Regions from separate parts of the Homo sapiens genome. Here region 1 is linked to region 2. The links are contacts of gene promoters, found by promoter capture Hi-C in human tissues and cell types (Jung and others, 2019). All regions are on one chromosome and are shown on one strand. Each heading gives the region's core, a stretch centred on a gene start or on the middle of the fragment in contact. The rest is flanking DNA. Distances are from core to core; before and after follow the strand shown.

The links. Contacts are between HindIII fragments. The study calls those that stand out against the background at their distance.
Region 1: a fragment that was not itself captured here is called in contact with the fragment with the promoter of ELAVL1 in region 2 in 1 of the 25 tissues and cell types used here (dorsolateral prefrontal cortex).

What each region holds. Positions count from the first base shown.
Region 1 is chr19:8,593,473-8,598,882 of GRCh38, forward strand. It overlaps ADAMTS10 (ADAM metallopeptidase with thrombospondin type 1 motif 10), which reads right to left. Exons shown (of 26, transcript NM_030957.4): 7 at 3,762-3,845; 8 at 3,515-3,660; 9 at 3,070-3,113; 10 at 2,835-2,940; 11 at 2,601-2,747; 12 at 2,290-2,431. Among named protein-coding and RNA genes, the nearest start is that of ADAMTS10, 15 kb to the right of the region's middle. The HindIII fragment of the contact is 8,071 bases long and covers 1-5,410 here.
Region 2 is chr19:8,004,032-8,008,702 of GRCh38, forward strand. It overlaps ELAVL1 (ELAV like RNA binding protein 1), which reads right to left and starts at 1,610. Exons shown (of 6, transcript NM_001419.3): 1 at 1,464-1,610. It overlaps LOC105372266 (a long non-coding RNA gene), which reads left to right and starts at 1,782. Exons shown (of 4, transcript XR_936302.2): 1 at 1,782-1,927; 2 at 4,262-4,399; 3 at 4,581-4,671. RefSeq lists silencers at 986-1,035, 1,066-1,265, 1,496-1,985. The HindIII fragment of the contact is 8,326 bases long and covers 1-4,671 here.

The DNA.
Region 1 (5,410 bases), core at 1,454-3,953, 590 kb after region 2:
AAGCTATGTGGAGGGGTGGGAGTTTGGGAGGGGACAATGCCGAGTTAGGTCTGTGTGGGACATGCCTCTCTTTCTCCAGGTGAAAAATCAGCCCCACCTTCTTCCCGTCTGAATCCTGGATGGGCTGAACTAGTCCCAGGGACTCACTCTGACTCTTAAAGTCCAGGTTAATATCCCTGGAGAAGCCCCAGTGAGTTCAGGTGAAGCAAAATCTCTGACCCTCTTGGCCCACATCCTAAGCAACCTCCCAGCGTCTTTCCTCTAAAAAGTAGGTGGTCCTCTCTGACCCTCTTGGCCCACATCCTAAGCAACCTCCCAGCGTCTTTCCTCTAAGAAGTAGGTGGTCCTTCTGTAATTATCAAGTGTAATCCCCGCTTTGAACCCAATTCTTGTAAGCTTTCCAGATGTGGGACTGGATCGATCAATGGCCACAGGAAAGGACCCTTCCTAGGTCAGCCCCTGAGAGATACCTGTACATATGTAAGAAGCTGGAAGAGTTGTTCTCAAATACATTCTCCCTCAAAGGTCCTCTAGAATCTCTGCCTTCTGCCTTATAGAGGACATTTCTCAGCTAAAAACTCAGACTGTGTCCTCTTGGCCATATCTAAAAATATCACATCAGTCCTGTCGCAATCCCACTTCTGACACCTCTTCAAGATAATGATTTCAGCTCTGCTTTTGTCCTCCTCTCCACAAGGAGGCACTGTGGCATATTTGAGTTGTGCAGAGACCTCAATTCTGCTACCAACTTGCAATATATTTCCCCTCTCTGGGCCTCAGTTTACTCATCTACAAGATGGGCAGCCTAATGCCTGTCTTGCCTATATAAATGGCTATGAGGCACGTGACAGGATAGATAAGAAAGGACTTGCACCAATGCCATTATGGGGTAACAATGACCACCACTATCTCTGGACCAGGCACCAGGCTGAACCCTTTACATATATTAACCAGTTCACATTTAGTAAATAAATCCCCCTTTGCCAAGATGGCCTGAAAGATGTTCCTTCAAAAACTAAAAGGAAGGCTCAATTCAACATATAGCCAGTGCCAGCCCAAGCTTGATATTTTGACAGCTCCTCCCCTCCCCTGCCCCTTTGTAAAATTTAGAGAGTCATGAGAGACCTGGATTTAAATCCCAGCTCTGTCATGGTCTCAAACTGTGGCCTTGGACAAGTCATCCTCCCTATGCTATGGCTCAGTCCCTTCCTCTGTAACGTGGGGGCTAGCAGGATTGTCAGGAGTTTAGATGGTGACACACAGCACATGCTTAGCCCATAGTGAGAGCTCAGTAAATGTCAGACACCATGATCATTGTTAGGATACCTGGGTCACAGCAGATGTTGAGGAGTAGCTTCAGAATTCTTTAGGAATTCCTTAGAGGGTGCTGCAGTTACCAGCTAAGTTAGGATGTTGGGGGGTGTCAAGGGTGGAATGTCAGTGAAATAGAAATTGTTCCAGGGTTTGTCTCTGTCTTGCAGTGGAATGAAGGGAGGGCAATTTGGCAGCTGCTTGCCCTCTGCTTTGCATTAACATGGCATCACAAAAACTCTGATCGTTTGAGTTGTGATAGTGTGAAGAACTGGGGCTGAACCTGGGCCCCTAGGGCTGAGACTGTGAGGAGCTTAGGGGTGCATTTAGGGAATCGAGGCAGGTGGGCAGAGGAGGAGCAGATCCTGGCTGAACCTTGGTGGCTGAAGCAGGAAGCCAGCAGGTCTTCAGCTTCCTGGGGGGAGCTGGGAGTGGAACCTCCTGCCCCCCAATGCCCTTCTCTATGCACGAATGGGGCTTTGGGAATCTAAACCTCAGGAAAGGGTGGGGAGAGGTCAGGAGGCTCAGAGCTCCTCCAGACAGGGAGTCCCTGGAAGGTTCTGTCTAGTTCTTTGCCAAGTAGGAAAGATGGCTCATCCCCAGGGAAATTATTTCCGTCAGGACTGGATGTTTAGTTAAAAACTGCCCCGTGAGAGGTCTTGAGACTTTGATCCTGCTGTAGCCCACAGGGGGTGTGATGTGCCAGACAGAAGCTGGCCCCCCAGCCCAGCCCTCAAATCAGGGGTCTGGAGAAGCAGGTGATCCCATTTTTGTTCCCAAGCACTGTCTGATTGCTTAGGACATTTTGCACACTCCATGCACCTCTGTCCTCCCAGGTCACCATGGGGGCTCACCTCACCCCCCTTCCCGGTTCTCCCACCCCCTCACTTCCCAGGTGGGTGCCCTGGTGGAGTTCCCTCCCCCAGCCCCAGCGGCCCCCTCCCCTCCCAGGAAGGAAAGCAGGAAGACTCTCTCTACCCCGTATTTACACTGACGCGATTTGACTCCATGCTGAAAGCGGCATTGCTCATCTGCATCGTAGGCTTGGCCCGGTGCCACTGTCGGGTACACAAAGTCCTGTCTGGGGGGCCGGTTGTTCAGGCAGAGCCCCAGGCCCGAGCTGCCTCGAGAGAAAAGCAACTGTCATGCTAGGTGGCTGCAAATCAAGAGCTCAGGAGCCTCAGCTGGATGGGGGTCCCAGGGAGCATCCCTGATTTCTATCGTCTCCCGTGTACCCTGCCCCACCATGAGTGTGACCCGCTCTGAGGGACACCCAGGTGCATCCTCACTCTAGAAAGCTGGTGATGTAGTCACGGCTGCAGGATGACCACACGAATGGGTTGGTCTTCATGGTAATGTGGGCAGCCATGAGCTTGGCTGGGTCCTGACCACGGGCCCCACAGCTGTTTCCCACGCCGTCATGGTTCATGCCGAATCTGGGGAAAGGGGTGTCGGCTCTGCCGGGCGCTGAGGGACCCGCCCAGCTCCTCCCCTCCTCCCCCTCTTGTGTGCCCTGGCCTCACGTGTGCCCGATCTCGTGGGCAATGGTGAACGCTGTGGCCAGGCCAATGTCCTCATTGACGCTGCAGCTTCTCTCGCGCTCACACATTCCGCCCACCGGGGCCAGGCCTGGGAAGACGGACATGTGGGGATGGGGCTGGGAGGCTCAGGACGGTGCTGGCTGGCCCCATCCACCTGCCAGGTCTCACCCCAGCCCACTGCCTTCATAGGCGCCTGAAACCTACGGGGCTCGGGTACCTAGTGTGCCGCAGGGTTTGTTCTTGTAGATGCAGATGTCATAGCTGTAAAAGGAGACAGGGTCAGTGAGGGGGCTGGGCTGTCTCCCTAAGCCCTGCTGATGCCACCATGCCCAGCTCTGGGGGTTGAGTCCTGCCTTGGAGGCGCCATCTGCCTCTCACCTGAAGCTGCATACAGGAGTGACTGACCACATGAATGAATGAATGCATGCATGCATGCATGAGTGGGAGAATAAGTGAATGAGGGCATCGGTGCCCAAATGGTCCCAAACCTCCCTTACCCATTATTCTCAAGCAGCCCCTCCCCATCCCTGGCTCCCTCATGGGCAGCCCAAACTTCTCTGCTCCTCCTGACCCTAGCAGAAGTGATCTCTGTTTGGACTCTCATGGTTCCCTGGACCATCTGTTTTCTCAGCCCCAGTCCTAGACCTCTCCTGTCCCCTCACCGTGTGATGAGCACTGCTGTGTCATGGTTAGCCACACCGTTCTCTGGAATGGCATTGCCATGGCCGCTGTGGTTCACGATGGATTTCTGCCACTTACAGAAGCTGTCCAGGGACTTCCCGGCATGGTGGGTGATCTCCAGAGTGGGCTGGGGATGGACAGAGGGAAATGCATGGGCACCCACCACCCAGGGGACGGCAGGACATGCTGGTATGAAGGGGAAGGGGAAGGGGAGGAAGTCCCCCGCACCTGGTCCTCCGTGAGCAGGATGAGGCGAGTTACGAGGATGTTAACGGTGCTTCCCAGACTCGAGTCCTGGAAAAGTTTGGCAACCTGACCTCCAAGAAACAAGAGAGACCGAGTCTTAAGAGGAGCCCAGGGTAGAAAATGAAAAGCAAAAACAATGATAACAGCTTGCTTTCATCAGGCACCTACTGTGTGTCGGGTCTTAGGCTAAACCTGCTATTAGGGTTTTTTGTTGCTGTTGTTGTTAAAGATGGGGGTCTTGGTATGTTGCTCAGGCTGGTCTTGAACTCCTGACCTCAAGTGATCCTCCTGCCTGGCCTCCCATAGGGCTGGGATTACAGGTGTGAGCCACCATGCCCAGCCATGTATCAGTCTTTTCATGAATAGGTAATATTTGCTGTTGTTACTATTTGTTGTTGTTGTTTTTTGAGATGGAGTCTCGCTCTGTTGCCCAGGCTGCAGTGCTGCGGTGCAATCTCAGCTCACTGTAACCTCCACTTCCCAGGTTCAAATGATTCTACTGCTTCAGCCTCCCAAGTAGCTGAGACTATAGGCGCACATCACTATGCCCACTTAATTTTTTTTTTTTTGAGACAGAGTTTTGCTCTTTTTGTCTAGGGTGGAGTACAATGGTGTGATCTCAGCTCACTGCAACCTCCGCCTCCTGGGTTCAAGCGATTCTCCTGCCTCAGCCTCCCGAGTAGCTGGGATTACAGGCGTGAGCCACCGTGCCCAGCCATGCCCGCCTAATTTTTGTATGTTTAGTAGAGACTGGGTTTCACCATGTTGGCCAGGCTGGTCTTGAACTCCTGACCTCAAGCGATCCTCCTGTCCTGGCCTGGCACAGTGCTGGGATCACAGGTGTGAGCCACCATGCCTGGCCATGCATCAGTCTTTTCATCAACAGGTGCTATTATCATCCCCAATTTACAGATGAGGAGACATGCAAACAGAGGTTAGGACACAGCTGGTAGGTGTCAGAAGTGAGACTCAAGTCTGGATTGCTTACCAGAACATTTCTTTCAGACTCCTCCAAGCTCAGCTTATCTACTTGTCCCCCAACCCCTGCTTACCCCCCTGACTGCCTCAAGCATCTTTGTCCAGAGGCGACCTGAGGGATATACATGTCTGAGTTCATTCCACAGCTGTCTGAAGGTACCAATTTGCCCATCACCACAGGAAAGTAAAACTGTGAGGGCAGGAGGCTCTGGAGACAGTGGTCAGAGGAAAGGAGGAAGCAGCCCCAGGGATGAGCTGGCACAGAAGACAGAGGCCAGGCTGTGCAGGGATCTTGGAACCCTGGGTAATCATTTCCCCGTCTGGAAATCCCCAGAATTTTTTTTTTTTTTTTTTTTTTTTTTTTGGAGATGGAGTCTCACTCTGTTACCCAGGCTGGAGTGCAGTGGCGCAATCTTGGCTCACTCACCTCCACCTCCCGGGTTCAAGCGATTCTCCAGCCTCAGCCTCCGGAGTAGCTGGGACTACAGGTGCCCGCCACCACGCCCAGCTGATTTTTGTATTTTTAGTAGGGACAGGATTTCACCATGTTGGCCAGGCTTGTTTCGAACTCCCGACCTCAGGTGATCCACCCGCCTCGGCCTCCCAAAGTGTTGGGATTACAGGCGTGAGCCACTGCACCGGGCTGGAAACCC
Region 2 (4,671 bases), core at 360-2,859:
GGTCACATCAAGTGACCCATCTAAGCCTCAGTTTCTTCATCTCTAAAATGGAAATTAATGGAAATTATAACATCACCTGCCTCAAGGACTGCAGACAAACGTCCACAAAGTGTCAAGCACATAGTAAATCCTCAATAAATACTGGTGGCTATGTACAACATCATTTATTCAGTGCCTACCAGGCACAGACCACGCACAACGCAACGGGATTTCCACCCTCTTCAATTTGCACCACACTTTTGTCCTTCCCATTTTATAGATAAGAAAACTAAGGCTCAACAGAGTCAAGCTTGTTCGAGGTCTTGGGAGCATCTCCCAGGGCATTAGAACTTTTGGAGGAAGAGCATTTAGTTCAGTAATGGTTCTCACCTGTGCGTGTGAGAGTGGAAGAGACCCCTCCCCCGCAACCCGAGCCATCTGGCAATGTTTGGAGATACTTTTGATCCTCACGACTTGGAGCATGGGGATACTGCTGGCATCTAGTGGGTAGAGGCCAGGAATACGGCTCAACTTCCTACATTGCACAGGGAAGCCCCCACTACCACCACAACCAAAAACTATCTGACCCCAAACATCAGTAGGGCCAACGTCGAGAAACCCTGCTCTAGACAGATCATTCTCCTCATCTTCCCATTTCTGGCCATCCGGATCTTAGATGAACACTTTCTAGCAAGGGGGCTCAGTCCCACCACGGGAAGCCCATGCAGAAGTTGTGCAGAAGTTCTTCTCCACCTGCCCTGCACACAGTAGGGACCAAAACCCATTTTAACAAGCCCCGCAGCCCAGAGCACCGGAAAAGGAAGGAAGGGCATCCATCCCCCATTGTTCAACTGTGTGCAGCTTGTGTTTCCAACAGGCACACACACATATTTTACAAATCCTAACGTCCCACGCCCCACAAACAGCTTTGTTAGAGATGGCGCTCAAAAAAAGATGCAGTTTAGATTTTTTTTTTCCCCCAGGACTCCCGTGTATCTACTGAAGGGTTTGCACACTTCTCAAAGGACCTCGCACCGGCCGCGGTGCTCTGACAACGACCACAAAAGAATCTGTGGGATTTCCCGGGGGAGCAAGCCCGTGGGCCGTGACCTCTGCGCGCTCAAAGCGTTCCCGGCGCTCCCCCGTAGCTGGCCCCACTCTCCCGCCCCCGGAGCCCGGGCTTCCAAGGCGACCGGGGCCCCCGGCCGTGCAGCCCGGCCCCCCGGCGCATGCCCACGCCGTATCCCCCTCGCCCGTCCCTCGAGGCGCCAGAGGAATCCGGCCCCGGGGCCTGTAGCCGGCGCCCACACCGGCCCGCCCCGACCCGCCCGCCGCGGCCCCAGCGCGCGTCCCCTCCCCCGGTCCGGCGCGGCCTGGGCCTCGGCCGGTGCAGGCCCGCGGGCGCCCCGCGGCCAGGCCAGGCGAGCTCAGGCCTGCCGCGGCCTACCCCGTCGGGCGCCGCCGAAGGCCCCCCACCGCCTCACCTGGATGCGGGCGGGCGGGCCCGGGGCTGCTCCGGGGCGGGCGGGAGGCGGCGGCGGCGCGGCGCTAACGGCTCCGCTCGGCCTCGGTAGCGGTGGCGGCGGTGGCGGCGACGGCGACGGCGGCAGCGGCTCCTCCTCAGCGCGCACGACCCGCTCCGGCCCGCGGCCCGGACACGCCCCCCCCGCGCGCGAGCCCATTGGCCGACGTCCGCCACGGCGCGCTGCTCATTGGCCGGCGTAGCTGTCGCGGCGCTCCGGGGCGCGCGGGAGAGGCGGGACTTCCGGTCGGCGCCGCCTGCGAAGTGCTCCGCGGCCGGCGGAGACGCGGGCAGCCAGCGATGGCCGCGGAGGGGGCGAACTGGGTTCCGGCCCTCGGAGGCTGACGGAAGGCGGTGGCTGAGGAGCGGCGCCTCTGGTTGAGCGCTCGCCGTGTGTCCCGCACCTGTCTGTCCTGCCGCCGCCCGGTAAGGTAGGAAAGGTCAGCGCGCCGGGGTTACGGGTACAGAACCTGGGTTCGAATCCCGGCCCCGACGTTTCCGCACTACGTGCCGTTGGGCAGGAGCTGACGTCACCTTGCCGGGCCTCAGTTTCCTTCTCTGGTGCGCTGAGGAGGCGGGGCATGGAACGTGGTCAGCGCTTCATCGGTGCTGGCTCTTTGAGCAAGCCAGTTCCCGAAGGCTCAGCATCTCATTCATTCATTAAAATGTCATTGAGCGCCTACTGTGTGTCAATCACTGTATGGGCAGTGAGCAGAAAAAAAATACCTGGTCTTATTGGGCTAACATTCTAAACCAGCGCTGGCCTAGAATGCCCTAGTAGAAATACATGCAAGCTACATGTTTAATTTTTTTTTATGTAAAGATGGGCTCTGGTTCTGTTGCCCAGGCTGGTCTCGAACTCCTGGACTCAAGCGATTCTCCTGCCTCCGCCTCCCAAAGAGCTGGGATTACAGGCATGCCTGCACTCTGCCTAATTTTTTCTTTTTTTTTTTTATGATCTGAAAATAATAGTCTTTTTATTTTTATTTATTTATTTATTTATTTGAGACGGAGACTCGCTCTGTCGCCAGGCTGGAGTGCAGTGGCGTGATCTCCGCTCACTGCAACCTCCGCTTCCCAGGTTCAAGCGATTCTCCTGCCTCAGCCTCCTAAGTAGTTGGGCCTACAGGCGCTGCGCCACCACAACCAGCTAATTTTTGTATTTTTAGTAGAGACGGGGTTTCACCGTGTTGGCCATGATGATCTGTATCTCTTGACCTCGTGATCTGCCCGCCTCAGCCTCCCAAAGTGCTGGGATTACAGGCTTGAGCCACTGCGCCTGGCCTACAATTTTGTTTTTCTTTTTTTTTTTTTTTTTTTGAGACAGGATCTCACTCTGTCACCCAATTTGGAGTGCGGTGGTATGATCACAGCTAACTGCAGCCTCAACTTCCCCAGCTCAGGCAATCAATCCTCCGGCTTCAGATTCCTGAGTAGCTTAGACTACAGGATGTGCCACTATGCCTGGCTAATGTTTTATTTTTTTGTAGCGATGAGGTCTTGCTGTATTGCCTAGGCTGGTCTCAAACTTCTAGACTTAAGTGATCCTCCTGCTTTGGCCTCCCAAAGTGTTGGGATTACAGGCGGGAGCCACGGTGCCCAGCCTGTTTCTTTTTTTAATCATATTTTCTTAGAAGTTTTTTTTTTTTTTTTTTTTTTTTTTGGAGACAGGGTCTCACTCTGCTGTGCAGGCTGGAATGCAGTGGTGTGATCTCAGCTCACTGCAACCTCTGCCTCCCTATTCAAGTGATTCTCGTGCCTCAGCCTCCCAAGTAGCTGGGATCACAGGCGTGCAACATCACACCCAGCTAATTCTTGTGGTTTTAGTAGAGATGGGGTTTTGCCATGTTGGCCAGGCTGGTCTCAAACTCCTGGCCTCAAGTGATCCACCCACCTCGGCCTCCCAAAGTGCTGGGATTACAGGCATGAGCCACCACCCGGCCTAGGAAAGCTTTTTAGAGATTGGGTCTCACTGTGTTGCCCAGGCTGGAGTGCAGTGGCTGTTCACAGGTGCAATCATCCCACAGGTTTAACTCCTGACCTCAAGCAGTCCTTCTGCCTCAGGCTCCCAAGTAGCTGGGATTATAGGCACGTGCCACCACACCTAGCTCAATTAAATGTTAAATTTAACATTTAATTGTTAAATTTTATAGTAGCCAGCATTCTGGGTCATCACGGTGCAATAGAAGTATAAACAAAGCAGGCCAGGCACAGTAGGTCACGCCTGTAATCCCAGCACTTTGGGAGGCCGAGGCGGGCAGATCACCAGGTCAGTAGTTCGAGACCAGCCTGGCCAACATGTTGAAACCCCAGTCTCTACTAAAAATACAAAAATTAGCTGGACGTGGTGGCAGGAGCCTGTAATCCCAGCTACTCGGGAGGCTGAGGCAGGAGAATCGCTTGAAACTGGAAAGTGGAGGTTGCAGTGAGCCGAGATCCCGCCACTGCACTCCAGCCTAGGTGAAAGAGGGAAATTACATCTCAAAAAAACAGTATAAGCAAGCCACAGATTTGTCAGCGAGGTATGTAATTTAAATTGGTACATTGTTAGCCATGTTTAAAAATAAGTAAAAAGAAACGGGTGATGTTAGTTGTAATGTGTTTTATTTAACTCAGTAGGTTGAATATGTTATTATTTAAACATGTAGTCAATATTTTAAAATACAGGATGTTTTGCATCTGTTATCTTTCCAAAATAGAAGATACTTTGTGTCCTTTTTCTTTCCTGCATGCTTTTTTTTTCTTATTTTTTTGAGACAGAGTCTCACTCTGTTGCCAAGGCTGGAGTGCAGTGGCGGGATCTCGGCTAACTGCAACCTCCCCATCCCGGGTTCAAGCGATTCTCCTGCCTCAGCCTCCCGAGTAGCTGCGATTACAGACATTTGCCACCATGCCCGGGTAATTTTTTGTGTTTTTAGTAGAGACAGAGTTTCACCATGTTGCCCAGGCTGGCCTCGAACTCCTTACCTTAAGTGATCCACCCGCCCTGGCCTCCCATAGTGCTGGGATTACAGGCGTGAGCCACCGCGCCTGGCCCCTGCCTGCTTTTGAAATCTAGTATGTATCTTATACTCCACAGCACAGCACAGCACCGCACATCTCCAGTCGGACTGGCTACATTTCAAGGGCTCAACCATCACGCGTTACCAGTGGCTACTGCATCAGACTGT